Linked DNA regions of Homo sapiens: region 1 is linked to region 2. Evidence: promoter capture Hi-C in human tissues and cell types (Jung and others, 2019). All regions are on one chromosome and are shown on one strand. Each heading gives the region's core, a stretch centred on a gene start or on the middle of the fragment in contact. The rest is flanking DNA. Distances are from core to core; before and after follow the strand shown.

What was found. The method cuts DNA at HindIII sites, captures the fragments that hold promoters and counts their contacts. A contact is called where the count stands out against the background at its distance.
Region 1: a fragment that was not itself captured here is called in contact with the fragment with the promoter of UBE4B in region 2 in 1 of the 25 tissues and cell types used here (hippocampus).

The regions. Positions count from the first base shown.
Region 1 is chr1:10,179,579-10,185,261 of GRCh38, reverse strand. It overlaps UBE4B (ubiquitination factor E4B), which reads right to left. Exons shown (of 28, transcript NM_001105562.3): 28 at 4,023-5,367. The coding sequence ends at 5,306. Among named protein-coding and RNA genes, the nearest start is that of KIF1B, 28 kb to the left of the region's middle. The HindIII fragment of the contact is 5,206 bases long and covers 901-5,683 here.
Region 2 is chr1:10,030,427-10,036,483 of GRCh38, reverse strand. UBE4B (ubiquitination factor E4B) reads right to left here and starts at 3,526. Exons shown (of 28, transcript NM_001105562.3): 1 at 2,790-3,526. The coding sequence starts at 2,813. RefSeq lists enhancers at 2,659-2,708, 3,100-3,754 and silencers at 3,269-3,488, 3,519-3,908. The HindIII fragment of the contact is 12,263 bases long and covers 1,056-6,057 here.

The DNA.
Region 1 (5,683 bases), core at 2,254-4,753, 150 kb before region 2:
CACCCAGCATCTTTTTCTTGAGATAGGGTCCCCACTTTGTCACCCAGGTTGGAGTACAGTGGTGTAATCTCGGCTCACTGCAGCCTCAACTTCCTGGACTCAAGCAATCCTCCTGCCAAAGCCCCTGAGTAGCTGGGTCCACAGGTGCATGCCACCACGCCTAGCTATAGTTGTTTTTTTTTTGGTTTTTTTTTTTTTTTTTTTTGAGACAGAGTGTCACTCTGTCACCCAGGCTGGAGTACAGTGGCACAATCTTGGCTCACTGCAATCTCCGCCTCCTGGGTTCAAGCGATTCTCTTGCCTCAGCCTTCTGAGTAGCTGGGATTATAGGCGTACACCACCACATCCAGCTGATTTTTGTATTTTTAATAGAGACGGGGTTTCACCATGTTGGCCAGGCTGGTCTCAAACTCTTGACCTCAGGTGATCCGCCCACCTCAGCCTCCCAAAGTGCTGGGATTACAGGTGTGAGCCACCACGCCCAGCCAAAGTTTTAACAAGATCATCCTACCTGCTTTTCTGAGAAAGGAGGTTAAGGGGAGAGGCAGGAGGACCAGTGATGCTGTTGGAATAATCCAGGAGAGAGCCAGCAGCAGCAACTCAAACCAAAGTGACAGGAGGGGACCTGGGGAGTAGTCGTCGAGTTCTGGGATACATTTTGTAGGTAGAACAGAGGGATTTTTTTGTTTGTTTAGACAGAGTCTCACTTTGTAGCCCAGGCTGGAGTACAGTGGCCCGATCTCAGCTCACTGCAACCTCCGCCTCCCGGGTTCAAGTGATTCTTGTGCCTCAGCCTCCCAAGCAGCTGGGATTACAGAAGCCCGCCACCATGCCCAGCTAATTTTTGTATTTTTAGTAGAGACGGGGTTTCACCATGTTGGCCAGGCTGGTCTCGAACTCCTGCCCTCAGGTGATCCACCCACCTTGGTCTCCCAAAGTGCTAGGATTGCAGGCGTGAGCCACTGCACCCAGCTGAGCAGAGAGATTTGTGGACAGATTGGACATAGGAGGAGAGCACAACAGCGGAGTCAAGGATGACTCGAAGGTTTGTGGCCTGAGCGACTTGGAAGGATGGAGTTGTCATTTACTGTGATGAGGAGACTAAGAGGAGCGGGCGTGGGGTGAAATGTACAGAGTTCAGGTTGGGATATGTTAAGTCTGAGGACCTTTTAGTCATCTGAGATGGCCAGTGTGTACAGTACAGGAGAGAAGTGGAGGTTTGAGATATACATCTGGGGTCAACGTGAGTGGCTAGTAACGAATGAAAGCTGTGATATTGAAGTTATCTAATTGTTTAAAATGGGGGTTAGGTCTAGAGCTGATCTCAAGGCCAAAGTCCCTTCCAAAATGCTATGCTGCTTCTCCTTGGGCATTCTGAGCTATTCTGAACTTCTAGCATTCTGGAACTCTGCCATACAGCAGGAGTCGGGAAGAGATGAGGCTGGAAAGGCCAGATGGCCTAGATTCATGTGCCAGTTCCACTACATTATGGTTGTGGAGGGTTAAATTAATTAATATATGTGGCCGGGTGCGGTGGCTCTTGTCTGTAATCCCAGCACTTTGGGAGGCCAAGGCAGGTGGATCACGAGGTCAGGAGATCGAGACCACCCTGGCTAACACGGTGAAACCCTGTCTCTACTAAAAATACAAAAAATTAGCTGGGCATGGTGGCGGACACCTGTAGTCCCAGCTACTCGGGAGGCTGAGGCAGGAGAATGGCGTGAACTTGGGAGGCGGAGCTTGCAGTGAGCCGAGATCGCGCCACTGCACTCCAGCCTGGGCGACAGAGCGAGACTCTGTCTCAAAAAAAAAAAAAAAATTAATACATGTAAGAGTGGCTTGCACATAGAATATGCTCATGAAATGCAAATGATCATCACCAATTCAGAATGACTTTCTTCACCAACACTATCTGACACCAGCATCAAGCTCATAGGCTACTGTGTCTCCTTCAATCAAAAACGTACCTTGAGGCCTGGTGTGGTGGCTCATGCCTGTAATCCCAGCACTTCGGGAGGCTGAGGCAGGTGGATCACTTGAGGTCTGGAGTTCAAGACCAGCCTGGCCAACATGGTGAAACCCCATCTCTACTAAAAAAAAAAAAAAAAAAAAAAAAAAATTAGCTGGACATGGTGGCATGTGCTCTAGTCCCAGCTACTCGGGAGGCTAAGGCAGGAGAATCACTTGAACCTGGAAGGTGGAGGTTGCAATGAGCCAAAATTGCGCCACTGCACTCCAGCCTGGGTGACGGAGCGAGACTCCGTCTGAAAAAAACCAAAAAACAAAAAAAAGTACCTACTCAAATGAGGCCTATTCATGTCACTTTAGCACTCCAATCAAATTGCTGTGAAATTCACTACTCGATGTACCAAACCCAGAGGTTACAAAAAGTGAACGGTGTGCTCAGCTTTTTTTTCAAAAGATATTCAATCAATATCTTTTTAAAATCTACACAACACTGAGTCACAACACAAGGCAGATTTTAATCATCTTTCTCTCAAGGATCATTTCTCTTCTGCCAATCTGATTCTCTTATTTGACAATCTTCCTTTTAGCCAAGACCTACTTTTAATATATTTTGGGATTTATTTCAATATCCACAATTAAGAGACTGCAGACAAACACAAAACAGCAACTCTTGAGACTCTAAAAATGGAAACCCAAATCATCTTCCCCCTATAGATAGTACAGGCAGGAGACTGACTGTGTCTCTGTCCTATCCGGCAGGTCCTTGAAACCTCTGAATTATTCAAAACGACAAGTGCATATGGCGGTATAAAGCAGCATTTTATTACATTCACGGGGACAACTGGAGGATTAAAATAAGAGTTTGGAATCTGGGATGGAGAGGAGACAAGCAGTACACACTGGTCAGATAACCACACAAACAAAATTAGGCAAGATGCCAGTCAGTATCCTAATTCTACAGGCACTAAGCTTAGATATGTAAGTTTAGTAAAAAGTAAACCCAATTAAACAGAATCTTCTGCATGGTGAGAATATGGATTTTTTTTCTTTTTGCTTATATTGCCTAAAATTTTTGCTATCATGAACTTTTTCCTTATTTATTGTGTCTATCTATCTATCTATTTTTTGAGACGAAGTCTCACTCTTGTCCCCTAGGCTGGAGTGCGATGGCGCGATCTCAGCTCACTGCAACCTCCACCTCCTGGGTTCAAGCAATTCTCCTGCCTCGGCCCCCCGAGTAGCTGGGATTATAGGCACCCACCACCACGCCCAGCTAATTTTTGTATTTTCAGTTGAGATGGGGTTTCACCATGTTGGCCAGGCTGGTCTAGAACTCCTGACCTCAGACGATACACCTGCCTTGGCCTCCCAAAGTGCTGGGATTACAGGCGTGAGCCACCGCACCTGGCCATGTTATATATATATATATAAATATATATAAATAAATATATATGTAAATATATATAAATATATATTTTTTCTTTTTTGAGACGGAGTCTCGCTGTCACCCAGGCTGGAGTGTGATGACGTCATCTCGGCTCACTGCAACCTCCACCTCCCAGGTTCAAGCAATTCTCCTGTCTCAGCCTCCCGAGTAGCTGGGACTACAGGCGCTGCCACTACGCCCGGCTAATTTTTTGTATTTTTAGTAGAGATGGGGTTTCACCATGCTGGCCAGGCTGGTCTCGAATTCCTGACGTCAGGTGATCCATCCGCCTCAGCCTCCCAAAGTGCTGGGATTACAGGCGTGAGCCACCGGGCCCGGCCTGAGGAAGAATCTTGAAGGTCAGGGAAGATACTTGAGATAAAGCAGAAGAAACTCAAGAAAGGCAGAAGACTGAATATGACAAAGCTTACCCCCTCAAATCAGCAAACAGTGAAATGAGAACCAAATGTCGAGACTGACATGAATAAGAAAGTTTTCTTTTAAAAATAGCAGCTCCTAATTGGATCCAGGAAAGATCATTCACCACATGCAAACTCACTTGGCTCTTGTTTACCCACCCGCCCTGCCCTTTTTTTTTTTCCACAAAAGAGAAGAGACTCAAAGAAGATTTCTTCTGAACGTGTGTCACCATTTATTGTAGTTTGCGTTAGGAATTGAACAGAGGACATTGTCTGTGGAGGGAAAAAAGGAAAAGAAAAAAGAAAGTATGCTTTTTATAGACTTAATTTCTTCAGAACACTTTATGGTTTCAAATCCTTTTTTTTTTTTTACCCCAAAGGAAATTTGAGAATTCAAGTATGTTAAGTAGGGAGCAGTAATACAAAAAGTCTTATACTTGTGTGCGCGTGTGGCTGTGTTTGTCTGTGTGTGTTGAAACCGGCAGACATACTCCCACATTCTTGCACCCTCTTTTGCTTTGGTAAGGCCAAACACATCACACAAATGACCCTGCCTCAAACTCACACACCCAAGGGTTGAAGAATTGATTTACCCCCAGAGGATAACTGTGAAGGTTTCAAACTGTCACGTAGCATTAAAAAAAAAACCCAACCCTCATCTCCCCAAAATATAAGTCACATAAGTCCTGATACACTTACACCCCTAGATTTTGCTGCAGCTGCTCCTCAGATGCCGAAGAGAGGCTTATCACAAGGACCAGAGCAGCAGGATTTTCTTTATTTTGTTTAGAATAAAAAAATCTTAAAGGGACATTTCAAAAGAAAAAAAAAACTGAAATTCAAATTCTGAAAATATCTTGCCTTTTTTATTAATCATGTCATCTAACACCAATTAAAAAAACAAATATGTGAATATGATATAAAAATACGATCCCAGGATTAACACTTGGTAGCAGGCACAGTTATCTCACAGAATATATGTTTGGAGGGCCAGGGAAAGGAGTTTACTTTTGTTTTTGCTTCTCTTAAAAAAATCCACAGCAGTGCAAGTAGGGTCAGGAAGGGGGAGAGGGGAAAAAAGATTCTTTAGCAGCAAAATGTCCAAGGTTCTCTAATCACAATCAAATCAACGGATATTGGATTAAAAAAAAATTCATGAAGGGATGCTGCCCAGACCCATTAGCCATCACTAAAAGACTTCCGTTGCCCCAAACTGTGACATACGAAGGACATGCTTTATTACACAAGCAACCATAAAACCTGTCCCTTAAGCTTTTGACCGTGTTTGTCACTTAAATATATGTACAGGAAGCGGGCTCCTCTTCTCATCCATGTCCTTTCAGGTCTCAGCGTTTGCTCGCTCTGGGTGGGCCTGGGGTTGGTTTGCCACATTTGGCCTCCAACACATGAACGGCAGCTTCGCTGCGGCCGCTGCTTCTGCTTGCCTCGTTGGCCTTGGCTGTGTCTAGCAGAGGGTGGGCGGCGGAACGGTTTAGTGATCGCTGTTCTGTTTCTCTCTCATCCACGCCTGAATCTGCTCTTTCAGTTCTGGCACTGAGAAAAGAAAAAAAGGAGGATTAATGCCCCAGATGGGAGGGCTCTTCCTGAGAGAGGATGCTTGTCGCTCTGTATAAATGGGAAGAAAAGGCCATTCTTTCCCTCATTGAGCCGAAGACTCCAGAAGGACTGGGACATGAGAGGGAGGGACTGGATGTCTGCAGGGAAAAAGGGCCAAGAGTGTTTTGGGTCTTTGCTACAGAGTGTCATAAAGTAGGTAGTTTCTGCATTTGATAAATTTCCCTTCTGCTTCATCTCCAATATGTGACTTGGGCTTTATCTCTTGGTACTGACGCCAGCGCTGCACCTCAAA
Region 2 (6,057 bases), core at 2,277-4,776:
AAACGAATATTATTTGTTCTAGGTTCTGCTGAGAGTAAAATTAACAGTTATTGAACCAGCCCTTTGTGTTCTGGACAACTAATTTGTTGAAGATAATTTTACATTGATCCTGTATTAGTGAATTTAATTTTTTTCATTTATTTTAATATTCTGTTGACCTTGAAAAAAGTTTATTCTATTTCTTCCACAAAGGTTACATGTGTTCCTCATATGGTCACAAAAAAAAGTTACACCTTCCTCAAGGACTGATGAAAGTGAAGAGACACATTTTAGATTATACAATATCTTCACTGGTCTGTAATGCCTCACTGGTTTGAAAAGAATTTTTTGGTGAAAACTCAAGTATGCAAAAGCCTCTAAACCAAGGACTATTAACAGATCATCAAAAAAAAAAAAAAAAAGTAATTTATAGGAGTAAAGGACTACTAAAAAACTACCTCGGCCGGGCGCGGTGGCTCACACCTGTAATCCCAGCACTTTGGAAGGCCGAGGCGGGCGGATCACGAGGTCAGGAGATTGAGACCATCCTGGGCTAACACGGTGAAACCCCGTCTCTACTAAAAACACAAAAAATTAGCCGGGCGTGGTGGCGGGCGCCTGTAGTCCCAGCTACTCGGGAGGCTGAGGCAGGAGAATGGCGTGAACCCGGGAAGCGGAGCTTTGCAGTGAGCTGAGATCGCGCCACTGCACTCTAGCCTGGGCAACAGAGCGAGGCTCCGTCTCAAAAAAAATAAAATAAAATAAATAAAAAATAAAAAAAAATAAAAAAACTATCTCTGGCCGGTCACGGTGGCTCACGCCTGTAATCCCAGCACTTTGGGAGGCCGAGGCGGGCAGATCACAAGGTCAGGAAATCGAGACCATCCTGGCTAACACAGTGAAACCCCGTCTCTACTAAAAACACAAAAAAATACAAAAAACTAGCCGGGAGTGGTGGCGGGCGCTTGTAGTCCCAGCTACTCCGGAGTCTGAGGCAGGAGAATGGCGTGAACCCGGGAGGCAGAGCTTGCAGTGAGCTGAGATAGCGCCACTGCACTCCAGCCTGGGCGACAGAGCGAGACTCCGCCTCAAAAAAAAAAAAAAAAAAAAAAAAACAGTATCTCTGCCTTAAGAGAAATTACTCACTAGAATTAACATTAATGAAAAACGGGGGAGGTAGAGAAACTTTTAAAAAACCACATAAAACAGGCCAGGCGCGGTGGCTCACGCCTGTAATCCCAGCACTTTGGGAGGCTGAGGCGGGTGCATCACGAGGTCAAGAGATGGAGACCATCCTGGCCAACATGGTGAAACCCCATCTCTACTAAAAATACAAAAAATAGCCGGGCGTGGTAGCGGGCGCCTGTAGTCCCAGCTACTCAGGGGGCTGAGGCAGGAGAATGGTGTGAACCCGGGAGGCGGAGCTTGCAGTGAGACGAGATCGCGCCACTGCACTGCAGCCTGGGCGACAGAGCAAGACTCCGTCTCAAAAAAACAAACAAACAAAAAAAAACCCACATAAAATAAAGCGATTCTAAGGAGATTTCCTACCGAATGAAAGAAACTGTGTAATATTCTCTTCACTTAAGATTACATTTCTGCTGTATTCGAAAAAAACAAAGTAACGCCGAATGGGCAGTCCTGATTTTCCAAACCAAGTATCCAAGTATCACAATCAACAAAATCATTTGCTTCCTTTCCTACCTGACCCTTAACACACCACTGCGTGTCCTATCCCAGGAGAATTTCAGTCCCTAAGTAAACACACTAAGTACTCTGTAGCTAAAACTGGAGCATGGAAGTCTTGTAGTACAATCAACTTGATGGATGACTGCTTTCCTAATACTGTAGGGAAGTTTACATGATGAACCAGTGAAGAAATGTGGAGGTAGGCTAAAGAGGGTATGGCCAGTAGGGGTCCTGAAAGGGAAGCTCCTAATTTGCAAAAAGGAAGAGAAAAGGCAGTAGAATCATAGGAAATTCCTTGTACCCTAATTGCCACTGCTTTTTGGTTGTTTTTTTTTTTACAACAACCTAATTTATTAAACAATCTTTAAAACATCAAGAAGTAGATCTGTATAACTCCTTTAAGAAATGAGAACAGGAGAGAGTTTAGAAAGTCATTTGCTTCCACTTGCTTCCCGTTCAGTCTCTGCTACAGCAAAACACAAGTTTGAAAGATTCAAGAAGTAGGAAAAGATAGAATGTAACAGAAGAATGCCAGAAGTCATTAGTGGTCTATTAAGTACCAGAATATAACTGGAATTCTCTAAACTGTGGAGAAGATACATATTTTGTTAAATATCAAAGAATCTGTCTGTAAACCACCCCTCAAGCAAAAATATATGTTTAATCAAGCTTATACAGTGCAATAACCACACATATCTGGAATTTCAAATGCTTTCTTTAAAAATATTCACCCACCATACATTCTCATTCCATCCAAAATTGTTCTTTAAATTCCTGAAGACACAGACACACACACACTTTAACTTCATGTAAATCTCGCCCTTCTTGTTCGCATACCCTGAAGAAAAGAATAAACACCTCAAGATGCTCTCTCCTCTTGTTCATACCCTAAAAGAACACTCGGAAAGAAGCAAATGGAGTTCAGAATGAAGAAAGAAGGCAACAGAATAAAGGAGAACAAAACCAGAGACCCTATCGGGGAGTCACGTTATTCTTGGAAAATATCATCTCCGTTCCTTCTCCAAGCCCAAAGGCCAGACAGCACTGGCGCAATACCATCCCTGTCCAAAGCGCTAACGAGTTGCCAACTAATCCCTCAAGGTGTCCCCCAACCTCCTCACCTCATCAGCGCTCAGCTCCTCCATCGCTTTCCTCTTAATGGTGAAAGGCGTTAAGGAGAGATCCTTCTGTTCTCGAGACCACGGCGGGAGGAAGGAGAGTGGAAGGTGTCTATCAGGCTGTCTGGTCCCCCGAATGGGGGAGGTTTCAGAATTGCATAGTCAGAGGTTAAAAAATAAGAACACGAGAGGCACTAAACTGCCTTGGCTTCGGTCACTCCAGTCGCCCCACAGACTACTACAGCCGCTTGTTCCCTGAGCAGCCTCCTTTGGCCGCCACTGCTGCTGCTACAGGGTTGTCTTAAGGCGCCACTTATTACCCTCTGCTTCCCAGGTTACCCAGCTAGGCAGCGCGGTCTCCAGTTCGTCTCGTGCCCCGAGCCTGCTGTTTCTTCGTGATAGTGGCGCGGTAGCTGCGTTCCTACAGCAGATCCTGCTCTCCTTCCTACCCTTTGCTCCTGGCGGGAACTGGTCGACTGCAGAGTGGATACCCCGAGGTAAGGCGACCCCACAGCCGTCCTGGCAGAGCCCAGCACTGTAAGGGAAGCCCCTCCCCTCCCAAAGCAGGCCGGCCACGCCCCGCCTCCACGCCGGAGCCCGGGTAGGGGGGAGGGGGAGGATGGGATGCGCGTAGCTCTCGCTGGAAGAGTAAATCCTCCTACCCCTCCACCCCTACTCTTTCCCCCTCGCCCCACCAAGTATTATTCATCAAAACAACAGGGCGGCCATCTTTGAAAGGGATCACGTGACCCCCGTCAGGGAGGCGGGGCTTCTGGCGCCGGGACGTGGCAGCCAATAGGCCGCGGGCGCCGCGCCGCCGAGTTCCTCTCGCCTGCGTCCTCTCCCCGCCTCCGTCCCACCCCGTCCCGCGCAGCCGCGCCGGACGTGGGGAGGGGCAAAGGGAGGCTGGCGGCTGGGCGGGGCGTTGCCACGGCGACCGCGCTGGGGCTGCGGGCGCGGCGGGCCTGAGCCAGGTAGGCTGGCAAGGGGAGGGACGACTCCCAGACTCGCGTCGGGGAAGATCCACCAGAAGGTGGCGCTGGCCCGCGGCCCGGGGGCCCGCCGCGCCTCCGTTGTTCCCAATCGCCTGCTTTTCTGTGACTTGGGGGCCTAGAAACACCTCATCGCTCCCACTGGACTGTGCGCGCCCGCCGCCTAAGCGAGGGAAAAGAAAACGGAAAACGTCTCCTTGACCCCGGGAGCGTGATCTACCGTATTGAGCGCTCATTTTCTGAAACATCTGCCACACACTCTTCCACCTCCTCCAGGAAAGCCCAGTTGGAAGAAAACTCGAACACAAGAACTCCCATTCATTTTATTTTACCTTGGCCTTTTAGAGATACTTCCTGGGTTTTTTTTTTTTTAAGTGTGTTCAAAAAGTATTGGTAAAATTTGAAAGTATAAATGGATGAGAGACCCAAATCACTGAATTGTACACAGCAAATGCAAGGAAGACGTTTGGAGTCAGTGGGGGAAAACCATCCTCCGGTGCACAAGAATACAAATATTTGGCCGGGCGCGGTGGCTCACGCCTGTAATCCCAGCACTTTGGGAGGCCGAGGCGGGCGGATCACGAGGTCAGGAGATCGAGACCATCCTGGCTAACACGGTGAAACCCCGTCTCTACTAAAAAATACAAAAAATCAGCCAGATGTGGCGGCGGGCGCCTGTAGTCCCGGCTACTCGGGAGGCTGAGGCAGGAGAATGGCGTGAACCCGGGAGGCGGAGCTTGCAGTGAGCCGAGATCGCGCCACTGCACTCCAGCCTGGGCGACAGAGCGCGACTCCATCTCAAAAAATATATATATATGTATGTATATATATATTTATAAAATATAAATCTAAGTTGAGCGATCAAAGTAACAGTACCATGAAATTCCAGATTTTGCCGCTGACGAAGACTATAAGTGGATTGGATGGCTCACTAAGCCATAAAGACTGCATTCCAGAATTAAGAGTTACAATGTATTTGCTACATGCTTAAAATAGGAACCTGACTACTAGATATGTAAGGAATTTGTGAGTAAAAATATGTAAGGAATTTGTGAGTAAAAATAAATCACTGCTGGCTTTGCATATTATCTGCTCTCCAGGAAAGGAATTCTGTGTAAGCCAGAACTTGAACCCCTGGTGACATTGATGTTAAAAGTTTACTTTTTTTAACCTCATTATTGCCATCTAATTTACATACCATACAATTCACCCAATTAAGGTGTACAGTGGTTTTATTATGTTCACAGTTCAGTCATCCTCACTGTCCAATTTCAGAACATTTTCATCATCCCAAAAAGAAACCCTCAAAGCCATTAACAGTCACTCCCGGGCTGGGCGCAGTGGCTCACGCCTGTAATCCCAGCCCTTTGGGAGGCCAAGGCGGGTGGATCAAGAGGTCCGGAGTTTAAGACCAGCCTGGCCAAGATGGTGAAATACAAAATACAAAAATTAGAAGGGCGTGGTGGCGGGCACCTGTAATCCCAGCTACTTGGGAGTCTGAGGCAAAGAATTGCTTGAACCCGGGAGGCAGAAGTTGCAAGGAGCCGAGATCGTGCCACTGCACTCCAGCCTGGGCAACAGAGCGAGACTCCGTCACAAAAAAAAAAGACTCCTGCAGGATAACTACCTTCTGTCTTGGTGAATTTGCCTATTCTGGACATTTCACATCAGTGGAGCAATACACCGTGTGGCCTTTGGGGTTTGGCTTCCTTCACTTAGCATATGTTTTCAAGGTTCACGCATATTGTAGCATATATCTGTACTTCATTTCTTTAATGCCAAATGTATCACTGTATTGCTGTAGCGCATTTTGTTTATCAATTCATAGTGATATTTGGGTTGTTTCCACCTTTTGACAATTATGAGTAATGCTGCTATAAACATTCATGTACAAGTGTTTGTTTGGACATATGTTTTTATTTTTATTCCTTTTAGGCATATACCTAGGAGAGGAATTGCAGGATTACATGTTTGACTTTTTGAGAAACTGTCAAACTGTTTTCCAAAGCAGCTGCACTGCCACCAGCAATGTGTGAGGGTTCTAACTTCTCTACATCTCTACCAACAATGGTTTTTGTCTGTCTTTTTTATTGTAGCCACACCAGTAGATGTGAAATGGTATCTCTTTGTGGTTTTGTTTTTCATTTTCCTAGGAGCTAATGATGTTGAACATCTGCTTAGGTTTATCTTCTTTGGACAAATACCTATTCATTCATATTCTCTGTTCTTTTTTTTTTTTTTTTTTTTTTTTGAGATGGAGTCTTGCTCTGTCACCAGGC